Linked DNA regions of Homo sapiens: all the other regions are linked to region 2. The links are contacts of gene promoters, found by promoter capture Hi-C in human tissues and cell types (Jung and others, 2019). All regions are on one chromosome and are shown on one strand. The core of a region is centred on a gene start or on the middle of the fragment in contact, and the rest is flanking DNA. Distances in the headings are between cores, read along the strand shown.

Evidence for each region. Contacts are between HindIII fragments. The study calls those that stand out against the background at their distance.
Region 1: a contact is called between a fragment that was not itself captured here and the fragment with the promoter of MCOLN3 in region 2, in 1 of the 25 tissues and cell types used here (IMR-90 fibroblasts).
Region 3: a contact is called between a fragment that was not itself captured here and the fragment with the promoter of MCOLN3 in region 2, in 1 of the 25 tissues and cell types used here (small bowel).

Annotation. Positions count from the first base shown.
Region 1 is chr1:84,858,122-84,860,962 of GRCh38, reverse strand. All of the region lies in intron 2 of LPAR3 (lysophosphatidic acid receptor 3), which reads left to right. Among named protein-coding and RNA genes, the nearest start is that of LPAR3, 34 kb to the left of the region's middle. The HindIII fragment of the contact is 5,926 bases long and covers 1-2,841 here.
Region 2 is chr1:85,046,977-85,049,801 of GRCh38, reverse strand. It overlaps MCOLN3 (mucolipin TRP cation channel 3), which reads left to right and starts at 1,302. Exons shown (of 13, transcript NM_018298.11): 1 at 1,302-1,406. RefSeq lists silencers at 901-1,040, 1,071-1,820. The HindIII fragment of the contact is 9,392 bases long and covers 1-2,825 here.
Region 3 is chr1:85,215,725-85,218,628 of GRCh38, reverse strand. No RefSeq gene overlaps it. Among named protein-coding and RNA genes, the nearest start is that of SYDE2, 16 kb to the right of the region's middle. The HindIII fragment of the contact is 3,111 bases long and covers 1-2,904 here.

The DNA of each region.
Region 1 (2,841 bases), core at 258-2,757, 190 kb after region 2:
GTTTGAGACCATCCTGGCCAACATGGTGAAACCCCGTCTCTACTAAAAATACAAAAATTAGCTGGGTTTGATGGTAGGCACCTGTAATTCCAGCTACTCAGGAGGCTGAGGCAGGAGAATTGGTTGAACCCAGGAGGTGGAGGTTGCAGTGAGCCAAGATGGCGCCCCCGCACTCCAGCCTGGGTGACAGTGAGACTCCGTATCAAAAAAAAAAAAAAAAAAAAAAAATTAAATCCTAAAGTTTCTTACGAACCCTCTTCTTTTACATATTAGAAAGTCAGTCTCTAAGTACATATTAACTGTCTATTAAACAGTATCTAAGAGGTACATGGTTGCATGAATTCAGTGAGCTTAATCTTATTTCAGAAGAGGAAAGGATGGACAGGGGCTGTTGAGTGTGGAGACGGCTTCTTAATGGGCTGGGATGTAATCTGGAAGGATAGGTGGGATTTGCATGGGCTGGAGGAAGACACATTCTAAGAGGGAGAAATGGCATACTCAGAAGTGTGATGATAGAAACATTTAAAGCTTGTGCATTACCATGAGGAAGGCCCCACAGAGTACAAATACTTGCTGTGGTGCGGTGGAAAAATAGCTCACCTGTGAACCAGCAAAGTTTAGTTGGCTATCCTCTTTGGAAGGAGAGTAGACCAGATGACCTTTGTGTTCCTTTCCAGCTTTGGGATTTTGGTTGAACACAAAAGCTAACAGCATGGGGATTCAGACTCTTTCCTTGAGGGTAGTGGTGGTAGTGATGATGGTGATGTGAGTTTTCAATCTGTGTGTGCATGATTGGAAAGGCATCAAGGCATCATGTTCCCGTTTCAGCAGCCCTGAGGCAAAATGCTTGCTCACTTCTGGGTTAGAATGTGTGATGGGGCCCTTTATGTGAAAAAAGTTGCTTATTGAATGTTCTCATTGAAAAGACATCGGAGACATACGATCCTGCTTTCCAAAGAGCACCAAGGCCCTGCCTAAGAAAGGGTTTTGAAATCTTACTTGTCAACAAGCCTAATCAGCTACAGCAACCAAACACACAAGAAACCCCACATGGAAACGTCTAATTTATTGTCAAACAACACACCATGTGAACTGTGCACACAGAAATGTTTTGTTATTTCCCAGAAAATGGGCTGGACTTTGCTTTATTTTGCAGTGTCTTAAAATACAAGAGAAAAGAAAGAGGGAAGGGACTTGCAAACCATTCTTTTGAAGTCTTCCATGAACCCTCCTGTCCTTTAGTGATGTTTTTCAAACTGTAAGTTTTGATGCACTGATGAGATTGTAAGCAACACTTTTTAAAATGACATAAAAAGAAGAGAAAATGTCAGAGTGTGTTGCATTTAACAGGTATCAATATTGTTTTATAACCTTTCTTTGCGTGCCTGTGTGTGTGCTGGGTTGTGATATAAAATGTATTTCCTATCATGAGTTATCGTCAAGAACGTTTGAAAAACCATGATCTTGAGGGTCAAGGTTTATTTTTCTGCCAGAAAGCACTGAACTCTTTTAAAATATGAAACATTATCGTTGTTAAGGGACTTAGGGCTTGTGGTAATTAAAACAGGGAGCTGGTTGTTTTTCTTCTCACTTCTTCCTCCCTCCTCTCCACTTAGATTGATGCTAAATCATCCTCTTTTGTCTCTTAGGGGAGAGAGGAAGAAGGCAAAGTAGCAGTAAGCAACGAAACGATAGCTCAAGTTCTCATGCTAGGAGGAAATGGGTGAAAATTAAGTACCATAAAGAGCCTTGCCAGAGTACTAATAATAATCACACATGATGTTTCTGCAGTACTGTGTCTTTTTCAGTTTTAATACACTGTTCTCTTTGGTCTCATGGAAATCCTGCCAAGCAAGTAGTTAAGGTATTATTATCCGATTTTCCTGCAACTCCCCTAGATGTATCCTATACTCAAGCTATAATGAATTATTTGCGCTTCCCCCATTTTGTCTCTTTAAGCCTTTGCAGATGTTGGGATACCTTTCCCCTAGTTCTGCCTGGGAAACTCCCATTCACCTTGTAAGACCTAACTCAAAGGTCTATCTTCTTTGAATCTTCCTTTGCCCTACTGGAGTAAATCTGATTACTGCCTCCCTTGGGCTGCCTGTCAGTCTTGTCCATACAACAATCAACGTACTTAATTGTTTACATGCCTTTATTTTGCACTAGAGTATACACCCTTCGAAGTCAGGGACTGTACCTTATTTATCTGTCTCTACATATCTAACAGCTAGTACTCTCAGCTAGCACCCTATCTGGCACACACTTGTTGAGATGTACTACAATGAATAAATGAGGAAATTGAGGCTGAGGGGAAGGTAAGTGGCTTTTCAAATGCTGGAGCTAAAAGCAGAACCCAGGTTTCCTCACTTCCATCTTGGCCTTAGATGGGCTCTGGCTGAGACATGCCTGTCAGGTAGACAAGGGAGGGAAATAGGTAAGAATCGTGTTTTTTAGGTTTTTTTTTTTTTTTTTTTTTGAGACAGTCTCGCCCTGTCGCCCAAGGCTGGAGTTTCAGTGGTGTGATCTCCGCTCACTGCAACCTCCGCCTCCTGGGTTCAAGTGATTCTTGTGCCTCAGCCTCCTGAATAGTTGGGATTATAGGCATGTGGCACCATGCCCAGCTACTTTTCTTATGTTTTTAGTAGAGATAGAGTTTCGCCATGTTGCCCAGGCTGGTCTGAAACTCCTGGCCTCAAGTGATCTGCCCATCTCGGCCTCCCAAAGTGCTGGGATTGCAGGCATGAACCACCATGCCCGGCCCTTGTTTTATCTTATAATTTTATAATATGAGAAGCCGAGGTCTCTGAAGGTTAAGCGATAGTATTATCTTGGGAAGGA
Region 2 (2,825 bases), core at 53-2,552:
TCACAGATTGCACATAAAAAAGAAAAGGGGTTCAGAGAAGGTAAGTAACTCCCTAGAGACCAATAAGTGGCACAGAAGGGAATTTGGGCCCTCATCTGTCTGACTCCAAAACCTGGCTTTATCTATTCACCGGTCCTTATAACTCAGCTAAAACGAGGGTTAAGCAAGTGCCATCATTTATGACTGTGAACCTCTTCAAAGTTCAGATTGTTCCTGAACAATCAAGCATTTCAAACTCTTACCATCAAGTAAGGAGATAGCGTTACATCGTGTGTAGGCATATGGGGATTAAAGATTACATTATATTTTCCAAATTGCACTTGAGAATTGACTGTGCCAATTATATCCTTTCTGGGTATCTACCTTGTTCACAGTATGTGGGATCCAGGTTGAGGAACAGCATAAAATTCTTGTACCCTGTTGCAAAAATTTATTAGTAATCCATGCATACTGGTTTAGGATTTGAAAACAGGTTTTATAAAAGGTTTGCTAGGTATCGATCTAATTTCAGGAATACCCTAGTAGGGAAATTCAGTGACCTTTACAAATTTACCCGTGGCCAAAAAAAAAAAATAAGTAAAAATTAAAAATCAGAACACATCCAAAGTAATTATAATTAAAATTAACCAAAGTTCCTGATCCAATCCTGATAAGGGGTATTAGGTTTAATATTTACAGATAATTTATGAAGAAAAAGATTACGGTTCAAAGTCTACTTCAGGTATTTCTATTTACATTTCTTGGAAAAGTTTCCCAGGGCTCTTTCTGCCCCAGCCGCCAATCTACAGAAGAGTCTAGTCGACTGTCCACTCATTTCACAGCACTTGTCTGAAACTAGAAGACCCAGGGAGGGAACAAGGTTCAGGCTTGAAACGCTAAGACATTCAAGATTTCACCTTGTATGCAAAAATCAGAATGGGAGGCTGCAGCGGGGCCTCACACTCACCGGAGCTAGGCGCTATAGATCCCGCACCCGCGGAGCCCGGCAACCACCTGAGGGGCCTTGGCCAGGAGGGGGTGGCCCCCCGGCGCCGGCGGCAGCTCCGGAGCAAACCTGGCAAACCCGAGCAGGGCGGTGCGGGTTGCTCAGGGAGAAAATGAAGGGAGTGATAGGGTGGGGGTGGCAGGGAACGGGCACAACGCCGGCTTCCTCCGGACGGCCTCCTGCGTCCCACCTGTGCTCCTGAAAAGCGGCCCCCGACAGGGCGCGGCGGGAACCCGAGCCGGGAGTAGGGTCACGAGTTAAAGCGGCGGGGGCGGGAGGATGCGCGGGCGGCGGACGGGGCGCTCTCCTCCCGTCTGACTCTGGGCGGAGCGGGGCTCGAGGCTGCTGGAGTCGCTCGCTGACTCGCCCTGCGCCCTCGCCGCGGACACCGGAGCTGCGGCCGCTCCCCGCTGTCCCCCAGGTGAGCCCGCGGGGCGCTGCCCCGGGGCGTCGGGTGTCGCGGGAACGGCGCCCGCGGCGCACAGGGAGGGCCGGGGAGGCCGGGAGGCAGCGAGCTGTCGGGGACGCCGCGGGAAGGCCGGGCCGGGCAGTCGGCGCCATGGAGGGCAGGCGGGCTGGAGCTGGGCGCGAGATGCAGCTGTTCCGCGCCGCCCCCAAGCCGCCCGCAGGTCAGTGGAGGAGCGCGCCTGCCGGGCCTGCCCGGGGCTGGGCGGGTGGGGGTGCTCTGCTCCTCGGTCCCCCTCCAGGCCGCCGCCCACCTGTGGCCAGGGCTCAGAGGGCTGGAAGCCACCCCCGCCCGGAGCCCCTGGGCTGGAAGGCTTGGATGCCGGCCGGGGCTCCAGATGGCCTTGACGCGGCTCGGCTGGCCCCTTTCAAGGCGGACTGTCCCCCTGTTAGAGGTGGGGGCGGCTGGAAGTGGGGGCTCAGGCCCGGGTCGCTGCGCTGGCTGAAAGCAGCCGCCAGCCGGGCTGCGGCCGTCTGAGCTCCACGGCAGTGCCCGGGGATGGCAGCGACCGCTCTGGGACATCGCTGCAACCCTGCAGATCTTTCTCGCACACACTACCCAACAAAAGTGTCAACCCTTGTTGTTTGTTTGTTTGAAAAAAAAAGAAGACTGGAGAGACTAAAGTTTTGTGTCTGGTGAAGTGGGAAAGCGCTTCTGAAAAAACGAGGTTGCATAACTTTGTCGCCAACTGGGAGGCCTTTGCTATTTATACACTCCCGGGCTTTCTCCAATTTTCTACAGCTTACTCCAATCAAGCCTCTGCCCGCCAGGAACAGGTAACCTGTGTGTGTCCGTTTGCTCCTTCTAAGAGCATGCCTGATAGATACTTCGGTAGCCTCTCCGGATGGCCCCTTCGTCGGGTAGCCTCTCCTGATGGGGTCCTTCGCCCACCCTGCCTCCCGCGCCGGCGCTCCGGGTGAATGTCAAGGGTGGCTGGCTGCGAATACCTCCTTCAGCTGCTGGGGTTCCCGACAGTTTGCAGTTTTTAAAAGTGCACCCTCGGAAGGGCTTTTCAGACTGGGTAAACCTGACTTTTCCAAGGTCAGCATCTGGTCCTGGTGAATGAAATGTCTACCGGGACAACTCGTTGTGATGTGCTGAATATATGCTGGTTGGCTTGTTTTCTCTTTGTTCCTGTGGATTACTGTACATGGTGTGTGGCTAGTTTGTTTAAAATTTAATTTTCCCTGTATCAAAGTGGAAAGCGCTTAGTGTCAATATACAACTCACCAACATGCTTATTAACAGCTTCATCATTATGTTGGTGTTCATATGCGAGCTTTGGTCAACATGAAATCATCTGCGTTTTAAGTCCTATAGATAAAGTCTCCTTAAATGCTGGTTAAAATATCCTGCCTTTTTGAAGGAAGTAAA
Region 3 (2,904 bases), core at 238-2,737, 170 kb before region 2:
CCTGGCCAACATGGTGAAACCCAATCTCTACTAAAAATACAAAAATTAGCTGGGGTGATGGTGGGCGCCTGTAATCCCAGGTACTCGGGAGGCTGAGGCAGGAGAATCACTTGAACCCAGGAGGTGGAGGTTGCAGTGAGCTGAGAATGTGCCATTGCACTCCAGCCTGGGCAGCAAGAGAGAAGCTCCACCTCAAAAAATAAAAAAATAAAAATAAAAATAAAGCAAAATTTTAACATTCTCTGATGGGGTTTCAACATATGTAGATATAAGAGATAAGACTATTATAAAGCAGGGAGGGCAAGAGGACCTGTATGTTGGGAGGTTTCTATATTCCACTTGAAGTGGTAAAATATTGATTTTAAGTGGACTGTGGAAAGTTAAGTGTGTATATTATTCCCCAGATGAACTAATTAAAAAAAAAAACTATACAAAGAGATAGAGTCCAAATTGCCATACATCAAAATGGAGTATGAAAAATTATTCAAAAACCCCAAAGAATAGAGAAAATGGGAAACAATAACAGAGAGAACACACAGAAAACAAATAATAAAAGGGTGGACCTAAATCCAAACATATGAATAATTTTCATTTTTTATTTTTTTTGAGACAGAATCTTGCTCTGCTGCCCAGGCTGGAGTGCAGTGGCGTGATCACAGCTCACTGCAGCCTCTGCCTCCTGGGCTGAAGTGATCCTCCCACCTCAGCCTCCTGAGTAACTGGGGCAACAGGCACATGCCACAACACCCAGCTAAGTTTTGTATTTTTTGTAGAGACAGAGTTTCACCATGTTGCCCACGCTGGTCTCAAACTCCTGGGCTCAAGTGATCCACCTGCCTCTGTCTCTCAAAGTGTTGGAATTACAGGCGTGAGCCACTACCCTAGCTGAAACATATCAATAATTTTACTAAATTTTTGCAGATTGAACACTCCAATCAAATTTATTTCTAGTGTCATTTCTCTTTTATCTGAAGAACTTTATTTAAAATTATTTTAGAGCTGGTCTACTGGCAATGAATTATCTTAGTTTTCCTTCCTCTGAGACTATTTTTATTTCACTTTATTCCTGAAAGAGTGCTATGGGGGTATATAATTCTGAGTTTCTAGCTCTTTTCTTTCAACATTTCCTTCTGATCTGCAAGGCTCAAATCTGCAGTCATTGAAATCACTGTCCCTCTTATAGGTATGCATCATTTTTCTCTAGCTGCTTTTAAGATTATTTTTCTTTGTCTTTAGTTTTTAGGAGGTTGATTATAATTTCTGGGCATGGATTTCTTTGGCTTTATTTTCTTCAGAGTTCACTGAATTTTTAAAAATCTCTATGTTTATGTCTTTTGCTACACTTGTGAAGTTTTCAGTCATTACATCTTCAAATATTTTTCCAGCACCATACTCTTTTTCCTTCTGGAACTCTAATTACATAAGTTAGCCTTTGTTTTTTGTTTTGTTGTTGTTGCTGTTGTTGTTTTTTGAGACAGGTTCTCATTCTGTCACTCAGGCTGGAGTACAGTGGTATGATCACAGCTCACTGCAGCCTCAACCTCCCAGGCTCAAGTGGTCCTCCTGCCTCCTGAACAGCTGGGACTACAGGCATACACCACTATATCTAGCAAATATTTGTAATTTTTCTAGAGATGAGGTTTTTCCATGTTGCCCAGGCTGGGAAAGTTATACTTTTTGTTAGTAACTCACAGGCCCCTAACACTGCATTCATTTTCTAAAAGGAATTTTTTTTCTCTGTTTTTCAGATTAAAAGCTTTCCTTCTTTTCTTTTTCTTTCTCTGTCTTTCTTTCTTTCTCTCTTTCTTTTCCTTTCTTTTCTCATTCTTTTTTTTTTTTTTTTTTTGACAAAGTTCTCATTATGTTGCCCAGGATGGTCTCAAGCTCCTGAGCTTAAATGAGCCTCCCACTTCAGTCTTCCAAAGTGCTGGAATTACAGATGTGAGCCACTGTGCCTGGCCCAGATTGGAAAATTTATATTGACATATCTTTAAGTTCATTGATTCTTTCCTCTGTCATCTCCATCTTTTTTTTGAGCCTATTGAGTAAAAGTGGTTTTTTTTGGCCATTGTATTTTTCAATTCTAATATTTTCATTTGGTTCTTCTTCATATCTTCTTTTTTTCTGAGACTTTCTATTTTTCCATTTGTTTTAAGAGTGTTTGCAAGTGTTTGGTAAAGCATTTATATAATAGCTGTTTTAAAGTCTTTGTCAGATAATTCCAACATCTGTGTTAAGTTTGTATTAGTGTCTGTTATCATTTCCTAGGCAAGCTAAGATTTTCCTGGTTCCTTGTACACCAAGTAAATTTTAAATTACTATTATTTGTAGAGATGAGGTCTTGCTACGGTGCCCAGGCTGGTCTTGAACTCCTGACCTCAAGTGATCCTCCCACTTAAGTCTTCCAAAGTGCTGGGATTACAGGCATAAGCCATCATGCCTGACTACCTCCAAGTAATTCTGGATTGTCTCTTGGACATATTGAATATCATATTCTGAAACTCTGGGTCTTATTTACATTCTACAGTGAATGTTGATTTTTTTGGTTTGTTTTTTCAGCAGACAGTTGACCCGGTTAGGTTAAGGCTGCAAGTTTCAACCCACTTTCTGTGAGCTGTGGTTCTAACGTCAGCTCAGCTTTTTAAGCCTCTGTTGTGCTATTCAGATCTGTCCCATATATAGGTCATCTGGTGGCCATTTTGGGCCCTGGATGGTGGCACATTTGTTAGTTTGGTTTTCAAAGTCTTTGGTGTGCTGATTAGAATCAGATTCATGTATGCAGAGCTCACTGATGAGTTCAGGAGTTCATAATCCATCTCCCCAGTTTCTATAGTTCTTTCCAGTCCCCTGGTGCTCCCTGTTTTTGTTCTTCGGCTACCAAGCTGAGGCTTTAGTTACCCATCT